2 separate regions of the Homo sapiens genome follow, and region 1 is linked to region 2. The links are contacts of gene promoters, found by promoter capture Hi-C in human tissues and cell types (Jung and others, 2019). All regions are on one chromosome and are shown on one strand. The core of a region is centred on a gene start or on the middle of the fragment in contact, and the rest is flanking DNA. Distances in the headings are between cores, read along the strand shown.

Region 1 (5,999 bases), core at 587-3,086, 300 kb after region 2:
CAGGAGGCAGAGGTTGCGGGGAGCCGAGATGGTACCACTGCACTCCAGCCTGGGAGACAGAGCAAGACCCTGTCTCAAAAAAAAAGAAAAAAAAAGAGAAAAACCAGGCTGGCACAGTGGCTCATGCCTATAATCCCAGCACTTTGGGAGGCCAAGGCGGGCGGATCACCTGAGGTCAGAAGTTCGAGACTAGCCTGACCAAAATGGTGAAATTCCGTCTCTACTAAAAATACAAAAAATTAGCCGAGTGTGGGGGCTTGTGCCTGTAATCCCAGCTACTTGGGAGGCTGAGACACAAGAATCACTTGAACCCGGGAAGCAGAGGTTGCAGTGAGCTGAGATTGCACCACTGCATTCCAGCCTGGGTGGCAGAGTGAGACTCCCACTCAAAAAAAAAAAAAAAAAAAAAAAAAAAAGAGGCCGGGCACAGTGGTTTATGGTTTATGCCTGTAATCCCAGCACTTTGGGAGGCCGAGGTGGGTGGATCACGAGGTCAGAAGATGGAGATCATCCTGGTTAACACAGTGAAACCCCGTCTCTACTAAAAATACAAAAAAATTAGCCAGGCGTGGTGGTGGGCGCCTGTAGTCCCAGCTACTTGGGAGGCTGAGGCTGGAGAATGGCGTGAACCCAGGAGGTGGAGCTTGCAGTGAGCCAAGATCGCGCCACTGCACTCCAGCAGCCTGGACAGAGTGAAACTTCGTCTCAAAAAAAAAAAAAAAAAGAAAAAGAAAAGCCAAATGGAAGGATTTATATTAATATCAAAATTTATAATAAAACTACAGTAATAGGCTGGGCACTGTGGCTCATGCCTGTAATCCCACCACTTTGGGAGGCCAATGCAAGAGCCCAGAAGTTCACTTGAGCTTAGAAGTTCAAGACCAGCCTGGGCAATATAGTGAGAACCCATCTCTACAAAAACTTAAAAAACTAGCCAGGCATGATGGCATGTGCCTGTGGTCCTAGCTATTCAGGAGGCTGAGGTGGGAGGACCGCTTGAGCCCAGGAGGTCTAGGCTGCAGTGAGTCATGATGGCACTGCTCCACTCCAGCCTGGGTGACAGGGCAAGACTCTGTCTCAAAAAAACAAAAAACCACACACACACACTACAGTAATAAAGGCAAGGTGTACTGGGATTCCGATAGAAAGAGATGAATGGAATAAACTAGGAAGTCCATAAATATGTGGTCAATAGAATTTTTTTTTCTTAGAGTTGGGGGTCTCACTGTGTTTAACAGGCTGGTCTCAAACTCTTGGACTCAAGCGATCCTCCTGCCTCAGCCTCCCTCACCTGCTTTCAATTGATTACTGACAAAGATGCTAAGATAATTCAGTGGAGAAAAGACAGTATTTTCTTTTTCTTTTTTTTTCTTTTTTTTTTTTTTTTTTTTTTTTGAGGAGTCTTGCTCTGTAGCCCAGGCTGGAGTGCAGTGGCTCAATCTTGGCTTACCGCAAACTCTGCCTCCCGGGTCCCAGTTCAAGCAATTCTCCTGCCTCACCCTCCCGAGTAGCTGGGACTACAGGCATGCATCACCATGCCCAGCTGATTTTTGTATGTTTAGTAGAGACGGGGTTTCGCCATGTTGGCCAGGCTGGTCTCGAACTCCTGACCTTGTGATTCACCCACCTTGGCCTCCCAAAGTGCTGGGATTACAGGTGTGAGCCACCACACCTGGCCAGTATTTTCAACAAATGGTAGAATGACTAAATAGCCTCATGGAAACAAAACGAACCCTGCCTTTTACTTCACATCATACACAAAAATTAACTTGAAATAGGTCAGAGATCTAAAAGTACAGACTAAAGCTAAAGAACTTCTAAAAACATATTTTCAAAACCTTGAAGTAGATCTTTTTTTTTTTTTAACATGGGACTCAAAAATCACTAATCATAAAGGAAAAAATTGACAAACTGGACTTAGTCAAAAATAATACTTTCAGCCAGGCACGGTGGCTCATGCCTCTAATCCCAACACTTTAGGAGGCCAAGGTGGGAGGATTGCTTGAACCCAGGAGTTCTAAACCAGCCTGGGCAACGTAGTGAGAACCAGTCTCTATATTTAAAATAAATAAATAAATAATAGTAGTACTTTTGCTCATCCAAAACCAGCATTAAGAAAATATACGGACCGGCCAGGCGTGGTGACTCACACCTGTGATTCCAGCACTTTGGGAGGCCAAGGCAGGCAGATCACCCGAGGTCAGGAGTTTGAGACCTGTCTGGCCAAACCCCATCTCTACTAAAAATATAAACATTAGCCGGGTGTGGTGGCACACGCCTGTAATCCCAGCTACTCAAGAGGCTGAGGCAGGAGAATTGTTTGAACCCAGGAGGCAGGGGTTGCAGTGAGCCAACATTGTGCCACTGCACTCCAGCATGGGCAACAGAGAGAGACTCCATCAAAAAAAAAAAAAAGGAAAGAAAGGAAAAGAAAAGAAGATATATAGACCAGGCACAGACCAGAAGAAAATATTCACAACACATATATCTCACAAAATAACCCGTGCCTGAAATATCTAAACAACTCCTATGGCTCAATAAAAAAAAAAAAAAAAAAGCCCAACCAGCCGGGCACGGTGGCTCACACCTGTAATCCCAGCACTTTGGGAGACCAAGGTGGGGTGGATCACGAGGTCAGGAGATCGAGACCATCCTGGCTAACATGGTGAAACCCTGTCTCTTCTAAAAAAATACAAAAAATTAGCCGGGCATGGTGGCACACGCCTGTAGTCCCAGCTACTCGGGAGGCTGAGGCAGGAGAATGGCGTGAACCTGGGAGGCGAAGCTTGCAGTGAGCCGAGATCGCGCCACTGCACTCCAGCCTGGGCGACAGAGTGAGACTGCGTCTCCAAAAAAAAAAAAAAAAAAAAAGCCCAACCAAAAAATGGCCAACAGGCTATAAAAAGGTGTTTAATGTCATTAGCCAACAGGAAACACAAATTAAAACCACACTGAGATACCACCACACACCCATAAGAAAGGCTAAATGGAAATATGCAAACAGCACCTAGTGCTGGCAAGGATCACCAGAACTCTCGTTCATGACTATGGGTGTATAAAACGTACAACTGCTTAGAAAAAGTTTCTGCAAATTTCTTAAAAGTTTAGCAGGCCAGGCGCAGTGGCTCGTGCCTGTAATCCCAGCACTTTGGGAGGCCGACGCGGGTGGAACACGAGGTCAGGAGTTCGAGACCAGCCTGGCCAACACAGTGAAACCCCGTCTCTACTAAAAATACAAAAATTAGCCAGCCGTGGTGGCAGGCACCTGTAATCCCAGCTACTCAGGAGGCTGAGGCGGGAGAATTGCTTGAACCCGGGAGGTGGAGGTGGCAGTGGGCTGAGACCACACCATTGCACTCCAGCCTGGGTGACAGAGTAAGACTCCATCTCAAAAAACAAACAAACAAAAAAGTTTGGCAGGCCAGAGGCGGTGGCTTACTCCTGTAATCCCAGCACTTGGAGGATCACTTGAGCCCAGGACTTCAAGACCAGCCTGGGCAACATCAGGAGACCCTGTCTCTACAAAAACATGAAAACTAGCCGGGTGAGATGGTGTGCACCTGTAACCCAGCTACTTGGGAAGCTGAGGTGGTAGGATTTCTTGAGCCCAGGAGGTCAGGGCTGCAGTGAGCCAGAGATTGCACCACTGCACTCCAGCGTGGGCAACAGAACAAGACCCTGTCTCAAAAAAAATAAAATTAGCATCACGCAACAACATAGATACATTTCAAAAACATTGTGCTGAGTAAAGCAAGTCTTGCACACAAGAGTACTTATGGTATAATTCTGGTTATTTGGGCTGCCGAGGCAGGTGGATCACCTGAGGCCAGGAGTTCCAGACCAGCCTGGCCAAAATGGTGAAACCCCATTTCTGCTAAAAATACAAAAAATTAGCTGGGCATGGTGGCACATGCCTATAATCCCAACTGCTCGGGAGGCTGAGGCAGGAGAATTACTTGAACCCAGGAGGTGGAGGTTGCAGTGAGCCGAGGTTGCACCACCGCACTCCAGCCTGCGCAACAAGAGCAAAACTCTGTCTCAAAAAAAAAGAAAAGGAAATGCTGGTTATTTAACGTTCTATAACAGACAAAACTAACTTATGTGGGGAGGTGGGACAAAAGAGTTGTTGTTTCTGAGACACTGACTGAGAAGGGACATGAGGGGACTTTTTGCGGTGATGATAGTGCTCTATCTTGATGGGTGTTTTTATTATACAGGTACATGCATTTTTCAAAGCACATCAAACCATATAGTTATGATTTATGCATTTTATTCTATGTCAATTTTACCTTGAAAACATAAAGATTCAATTTTAGGTAATGATATTGATATTCAAGTGTCTGGGGGTGAAATGTACTGGTGTCTGCCATTTCTATCAAGAAGCATCAGAAAAATAGGCGAGGTGCAGTGGCTCATGCCTGTAATCCCAACACTTTGGGAGGCCAAGGTGGGAGGATCACTTGAGGTCAGGAGTTCGAGACCAGCCTGGCCAACAAGATGAATCCCGTTTCTACCAAAAAATACAAAAATTAGCCGGGCGTGGTGGTGCATGCCTGTTGTCCCAGCTACTCGGGAGGCTGAGATGGGAGAATCGCTTGAAGAAAAAAGGCCTGGCGCGGTGGCTCACGCCTATAATCCCAGCACTTTGGGAGGCCAAGGCAGGCAGATCATCTGAGGTCGGGAGTTCGAGACCAGCTAGACCAACATGGTGAAACCCCATCTCTACTAAAAGTACAAAATTAGCCGGGCATGGTGGCACACGCCTGTAATCCCAGCTACCCGGGAGGCTGAGACAGGAGAATTGCTTGAACTAGGGAGGCGGAAGTTGCAGTGAGCTGAGATCACGTCATTGCACTCCAGCCTGGGCAACAAGAGCAAGGCACGGTGGCTCACGCCTGTAATCCCAGCACATTGGGAGGTTGAGGCGGGCGGATCACGAGGTCAGGAGATCAAGACCAACCTGGCTAACACGGTGAAACCCCATCTCTACTAAAAATACAAAAAAAAATTAGCCGGGCGTGGTGGCGGGGTCCTGTAGTCCCAGCTATTCAGGAGGCGGAGGCGGGAGAATGGCGTGAACCCAGGAGGCAGAGCCTGCAGTAAGCCAAGATCGCACCATTGCACTCCAGCCTGGGTGACAGAGCGAGATTCCATCCCAAAAAAAAAAAAAAAAAAAAAAAAAAAAGCAAGGGCGAAACTCAATCTCAAAATAAATAAATAGGTGCAGTGGCTCATGCCTGTAATCGCAGTGCTTTGGAAGGCTGAAATGAGAAGATTGCTTGAGGCCAGGAGTTTGAGGTTACAGTGAGCTGTGATCACTCCATGGCACTCCAGCCTGGGTGACAAAGCAAGAAATACAAATAAAATAAATAATAAGGTGGTTTGGTGGGAGGGTAGAAGGATAGATATGACAAAACAAACATGGGAAAATGTTCATTGTAGAATCTAAGTGATGAGTATGTGGGTGTTTATTATACAATTCTTTAAACTTTTCTTTATGTTTGAAATTTTTTCCTAATAGTGTTGGGAGAAAGTAACATCTATTCTGTGAGCCAGTTATTTCTCCCTTTGGTATTTATCCAAGAGAAATAAAAACTTATGTCTACATAAAACTTTGTAAGAGAATGTTCATCCCAGCCGGGTGCGATGGCTCACGCCTGTAATCCCAGCACTTTGAGAGGCCAAGGCAGGTGGATCACAAGGTCAGGAGATAGAGACCAACCTGGCTAACACGGTGAAACCCAATCTCTACTAAAAACACAAAAAATTAGCCCGGCGTGGTGGTGGGCGCCTGTAGTCCCAGCTACTTGGGAGGCTGAGGCAGGAAAATGACATGAACCCGGGAGGCGGAGCTTGCAATGAGCTGAAATTGCACCACTGCACTCCAGCCTCGGTGACAGAGCGAGACTCCGTCTCGAAAAAAAAAAAAGGAATGTTTATCCCAGCTCTATTATTGGCAAGAGACTGTAAACAGCTCAGATGTCCATCAACAGGAGAAT
Region 2 (6,190 bases), core at 1,331-3,830:
GTCCAGGTGTTAAAATATTCAGAAGAACTGGGTAGGGAGCATCTGTTAGAAATTACGGTAAGTTGGGGATGGGAACACGTGCCCAGGTGAGAGAGCTGAGCTGAGGGTATGCATCCTGCCAGCAGGCTCTGTTTTGGGGAGCATCTGTTGAGCTATCCAGGTGTCCTTGGAGACAGGGTATTGGACATCCATCCTGGGTTCTGGTGCAACTGTCCAGTTGTCCAATATCGGGGACTGATTTTGAGGGGACACTGTCTGGAGGGCGGTGGGAGTTTGGGGCACCTGTCTCCAGGTAGGGGAGCAGTTGGCAGGTTGTGGTAGGGGCGTCACGGGCCGGGCTGCAGCCAGTTACCTGCCCCGTGGAGGTTGACGTGAACTGGAAGATTCCTAGCATCATGCGCAACAGTGACAGGAACTCTTTGTCCTTATAGTCAAAGCGGTCCCCAAAGACAATGGAGCTGATGACATTGGAGACTGTGCGGCTCAGGAAGAAGGTGGGATCGATATTGGCGCCTGCGGGTATGGCGGGAGAAGGGGGTTGGGGAGAGAGTCAACTCAGAGGTCTGAGGAGAGTCAGAATTCCAGGAGGCAGGGCCTTGTTGAGCCAAATTCCCAGCGCCAGACTCCAGGGCTGGAAGTGCGGGCGCCTTTCCCCACCTAGTCCCCATCCCCAGGCAGAACGCGCGCGGGTTCCTCGTCCTGGGTGTTTTCCTTCTCCTGCCCCCGCACTCGGGGTCCCCTGCTCACCGCCAGTGCCCCGGAGGGCGTCGATGAGGAAGCCCGCCTCCTCCTGGATGCGCTCCTCGATGCCTCGCTTGCCCACCCCGAAGTCCCGCAGGGTGGCGATGGAGAAGCGCCGGAGCTGCTTGGCGCGCTCCCCGTTGCTGAATACCACGCCTGGGGAGGTGAACGCGGGAATGGAGACAGGCCAGGGGGCGGCAGGGGCAGGAGCGGAGCAGCTCCAAGGGGCTCCCCAAGGGTGGAGGAGAGAGGGAGTAGGGTGGGAGAGAGATGGATTCAGCGCCATTGCCCAGCAGAGCTGCAAACTCAGTCAGAGAAACACGATGTCGAGGTAGAGAGAGAGAGAGAGAGAGAGAGAGAGAGAGAGAGAAGAGAGAGAGGAGAGAGAGAGAGAGAGAGAGAGAAGAGAGAGAGGAGAGAGAGAGAGAAGAGAGAGAGGAGAGAGAGAGAGAGAGAGAGAGAGAGAGAGAGAGAGAGAGAGACCAGGTTTAAAGAATAAGACAATCAGAAAAGAAACAGAAAGGCCAGACAGAGAGATGCACATAGAAACAGAGGGATAAGGGGACACTCCATGGAGGAAGGGAAGGAAGTGGGGAGAGAAAGAGAGTGATGGAGGAAGAGGATGGAGGGAGGGGAAGTGAGATATGGGGAGATCTGGGAGGAGGAAATAAAAATGGTGAAAGATTCTTAAGCTGAGCTGGAGAAGAGAGAAAAATATTGAGATAGAAACAGAGAGGGTCTGGAAGGAAGAGAGACTGTTACCAGGAGATGGAGGCTGAAGATGTGGAAGTAGGAATACCCTGAAATCCTAAGACAGAGGAAGAAGTGAGAAAGGGATGCGGAGAGATGAGAAACACAGAGAAGCCCAGAAGCTAAGAGGGACAAAAAGACAAATGAAGACAGAGAACCAGGGCTGGAAAACAGAAACCCAGGATGTCCTTAGAGATGGAGAGAGAGGGGAAAGAGGAGACTCCAGTGAGAGAGAATAAGGAGGTGGGGCAGAGAGAGGCAGGGAGGAATCAGGACAGGGACGCTGGAGACAGGTGAGGGATACACATGGAGAGGCCACAATGAAGGGAGATGGGGAGGGAAGACCAGACTGGGGACTCTGCCTTAGCCTCCAGTTGGCAGGAGAGTCAGGGAGAAGGCTGGGAACACTGAGACCTTCGTGTCCACCTGGCCACCTTCCCCCTCTTGGGCACCCCCTCACCATAGCCTTTGAAGACCCAGTCGAAGGTGGCTTGCTCGCCTCGCCCGCTGAACTCCTCAGCCTGGTCCACCAGAGCCTCCCTGACGGCATCATGTCCACACAGCACCACGACCCGCCGGGGCCCCAAGTGAATGGTGAACACGGGGCCATAGCGCTCACTGATCTGATGGAGGTGGGTGGGAGTGGTTAGAGGGAGAAGCCTCCACTCTGAATGGGGCCCAGCACCGAGATGTCATGTGCTGGGATGCTTCGCACCCAGGTTCTCACAGTCAGGGAGCTGGACATCCCAAGATCCTGTCTTTCTGATGCTGAAACTCCAAAACTCCATTTCCTAAGACTCTGGTCCACACTGGTCAACCCCCTGCCACAAAGCCCCAGCCAACTAGGCAGCCCCCACCCCGTGCCACCCATCTCCCTGCCTTGGGACACCTTCATGAGGGAGTTGTACATCTGCTCTGTGTTCAGCTGCAGGTAGTTTCCAATGAAGGGCAATGGGGTGGGTCCCGGAGGCAGCTTCCCCTTGCTCTTCCTCTGCTGCCAAACAGACATCAAGACCATTACAGTCAGGCAGACCAGCAAGGCCACCAGAAGCATCCCTGAGGCCAGCATGGTGGTAGTGGGATGATAGATGGTGACGGCTGGGGTGGTTTGCCTTTATACTGCCTGAAAAAGAGGGATGGACTTTGGCTGATTACATAATTACCTCATTTCACCTCCCAACTACATGCCCCACCATGAATCCTGCCTAGCTTGGGACACAGCCAGCAAGGGAGGATAAGGGGACCCCAGGGCAGCTGAACAGAGAGGGGGCCTCCAGACTAAATCTGTGGTACTTCAGGAGGGGTGCCGCAGGGCTGTGGATTTAGGAGGGGGCAACAGATAAGCTGTAGAACTGAGGAGTTTGGAATATTTGCATAGGGGAGCACTTGGGCTTTGGATTTGGGGTCTGAGAGTGAGAATGCACCCCAAAGTTGTGGATCTGGGGGTTCCAGGGGAGAGGAATCCAAAGGTCTGGGTTTTATTAGGGTAAGACAAAGTGTGGCTGTGCATTTAGGGGTCTTCTGTTGTGGAGGATGCAGGGTTAAGGGTCTCAGGAAGGGGGATTCCAGGCATATGGACTTGAAAGTCTCGGGGCTAGGAAGACCCAGGGCTGTGGGTGTGGAGTTTCTGGGAGGAGGAGTGTGTAGCAAGCCCAGCGGGTTCTCCCAGAAAGCCCAGCAGCCCAGCACTGGGTCCAGGGGCTGACTTGATTTTGCTTTTGCCCAGAGCTGTCTCTTGATGCCCAGAATCCTCATTGGAACCTCAGAGTGAGGCCAGGATGGGTGCCATAGAACCTCCACTGCCCATCTCTGATTGGGAAGGGGAGGAAGACCAGAGCCATATTTCAGGGGAACTTTCCCCACACCTGGAGAAGAGTACCTGGAGTTAGCGGTTGGCAGAGGGATTGGCTAGGTCTGGAGAAATAGTAATAACAACCCCCAAATGGTGGAAAAATCTCAAGTGTCCCAAGGGTTGTCCGCTGGTTTCCAACCCAGATCCTCAGGGAAACCCACTAGATTGATTGTATCATCCCTATTAATATTATGATTGTTGTTTATGTTTCTCATTTTATATAAAGATCTACAGAGGACAGAAAACAGACAGTGGGCAGGGGACATGTGTGAGTGGCCCTGAACTCCCATCTCTCCTGCTCTGTGTACTTAGTTCCCCTTTCTGGATTTGGTTTTCCTGCCAGTGGAAAGGGAGTGTTTGGGAAGAGAAGATCACATTCGAGGGTGAGTTAAGTCTCCTTTAAGAATGATTCCTGCTTTGTCAGGGGCTACTACTATTAGCAGGCAGAGGGAACAGTGGCAGAAGAGATTGGGGTAAACTCCAGTATTAGGCACAGAGGCAGATCCTGGGGTGGGTGTGAGTGGAGAAGGGATGAGTAGCCCTCCTGTCCTTCCCTCAGGGAAATTCTTCCTTAGTAAACAGGACAGTTACCCTTTGGTGAGCATGGTCGTATACGGGAAGATTAAGTCTAGGTGTGTATGATCTGGTTGAATCTTTGTAACAATGAGGTTGGTTCATCATGATCATCCTCATTTTGAAGATGAGCAGATCTAGACTCCATAAATCCTCTTGAGTGAGGTCACACAGGGAGTAAGTGAGGGAGCTGGGATGTGAACTTTCTCCTCACCCCCCTTCATTGACTGGCCTAGATCACCCTGGGAGTCAAGTGCAGGCCAGCCTTAGCAGGAGGTGAGTGCTGGGACTGGCATCAGCAGTGGACACACTGATGACATTGGTGGGTTCTGATATCAGCATCAGGTATGGCCAGGGAGGGAAAGGCATCGTGTTGGCTTTGGGACTGCCCCCAGGTGTATGCGAGGATGGGAAACAAGTTGGCACTGAACTTGACACCAGGAGAATATTGAAGTCATGTTTGGTGCCAAGAGGGCTCTGTGTGTTGTCTCAGGTGTCATTGAGGGCATAAGAGTGTCCTGCTTCAGGAGGGCGTAAGGGTGGCACCATATAGGGTCTGAGGTTGGTCCCAGTGGGCTGTGACATGAGCATGAGGCAGGTGCTGATATTGGTCCTATGTGGGTCTGAGATGAGCCTCAGCCAGACCCTGAGAGGGGCCCCAGATGGCCACAGGACAGGCTGTGGTGGTTGGACCATTTAGGGTTGCACCTGTCCTCTGGGTCACCAACTTTGGACAAGTGGAGGTGGGTGAGGTTGGCACCCCCAGGACTGACATCTTGCTCAAACTGTTCTAGGATGCTGAGCTCTGAGACCTGTGTGGAGGGAACAAAGGTCAGAGAACAAGGCAGAGAGAGGAAAGTTGTTTGTTGATTTTGGAGGGGAAGAGGTGGGAAGGAAGATTAGCACCAGCTTGGCAGATATCAATCGCTCTAATCCTGTTCACCAGTCTGCACCTGGGCCTGGCTCCTCCTTTTCCTTCGTGTTTCTTAAAAAGGTGGGAGACAGAAATCTGGGGAGTTTGTTTCTCACTGGGGTTGGCACTAGGAAGTGCACTGAGTGATCAGCAGGTTGCCATGACCTGGCCAGGGAGGGGATGGGGAGAGACAGGTTGGGAGAACTCTAGTATTTGTGGACATAGAGGTCAATGAATTTTGGACTTGTTGATTACCCTAGAGCATGGAGTGAGAGAATGGTGTCTGAAATCATGTGGGAGGGACTTGTCCCAGTGGGCAGTGTCTTGGGAACAGGCTTTCAGAGTGAGTTAGTGGCGAGCCCAGGAAGATCCCTTTCCTTTGCTGGGCCTCAGTTTCCCTTTCTGAATGGATGGTGCAATGATTAAGGCCTGGATTGGAATCCTAACCTTATCCTTTCTTTGTTGTGTGGCTTTGAACAGCTGACTTCATCTCTCTGAGTCTTATGGAGCCAAGAACAGCTCCTACCTCTTTGGCTATTTAGGGGAGAAGTATAAGTGTTAATGCAGATGAGGTACATGGCAGTAAGTGCTCAATGAATGGTAGTTGTTCTCTTTAATCTGTAGGATGAAGCGGATGGATGAGATGTTCCCTAAGCACATTCCTTGCTTTTACATTCTCTAGTCTAAAGCTCACAAATCTTTTCCTTTGGGAAGGAGGAAAGGGACAGAGTCTTTGGGAACCTCCTTCGCCATCCCTTCCTCAGCACAGCCAAGCTTTACCCCATGGAGCTGTGAATAGGAAATTAATCCTTCATGGCCTCCTGGAGTGTGGTGCTGAGTTAGGCAGTATCTGCGGAAGGACAGGCCAGCATTAGACTCTCAGGTTATTCTGGTTGGCCCTGGAGCCCTGCACAGGACTTTGCCCACCTGTCTGTCTATGCTTGTCTTGGATCCCATCTTTCTATCTTTCTCTTTCTCCTTCCCTGCAAGTCAGTGTTCCCCTCAATCACCCTGTGTGCTCATGCATCTTTGTGTTTTGTGCCATTTTGTCCAGTGGGTTCTCCTGGATGCCTCTGCCATGTTTATCCTCATTTATACAACTGTGTGTGTGTCATTCTGGGTGCATGCTTTTAGTGTCTACGTGTATGTATGTTTCAGCATGTTCATGTTGATACATGAATTTATGTGTGCACCAGGCTTTGTGGTGTGTATGTTTGTGCTTGATAATGGGTATCCATTCCAACTTATGTCTGCACATGCACATGTGTGTGTGTGCCTGACAGGGTGTGGCACTGTTTCTCAATGCTTGCCAATCTTTGTGTCTGTCTCTGCATACAGCATGTGTGCACACATGATTTAGG

The links. Contacts are between HindIII fragments. The study calls those that stand out against the background at their distance.
Region 1: a fragment that was not itself captured here is called in contact with the fragment with the promoter of CYP2A6 in region 2 in 2 of the 25 tissues and cell types used here (H1 embryonic stem cells and mesenchymal stem cells).

What each region holds. Positions count from the first base shown.
Region 1 is chr19:41,149,012-41,155,010 of GRCh38, forward strand. The region is part of intron 2 of LOC124904790; the gene reads right to left. Among named protein-coding and RNA genes, the nearest start is that of CYP2F1, 38 kb to the left of the region's middle. The HindIII fragment of the contact is 5,706 bases long and covers 1-4,689 here.
Region 2 is chr19:40,847,867-40,854,056 of GRCh38, forward strand. It overlaps CYP2A6 (cytochrome P450 family 2 subfamily A member 6), which reads right to left and starts at 2,581. Exons shown (of 9, transcript NM_000762.6): 1 at 2,381-2,581; 2 at 1,952-2,114; 3 at 748-897; 4 at 353-513. The coding sequence starts at 2,560. RefSeq lists enhancers at 440-939, 3,749-3,777, 4,973-5,007 and promoters at 2,560-3,579, 2,560-2,696. The HindIII fragment of the contact is 10,166 bases long and covers 1-6,183 here.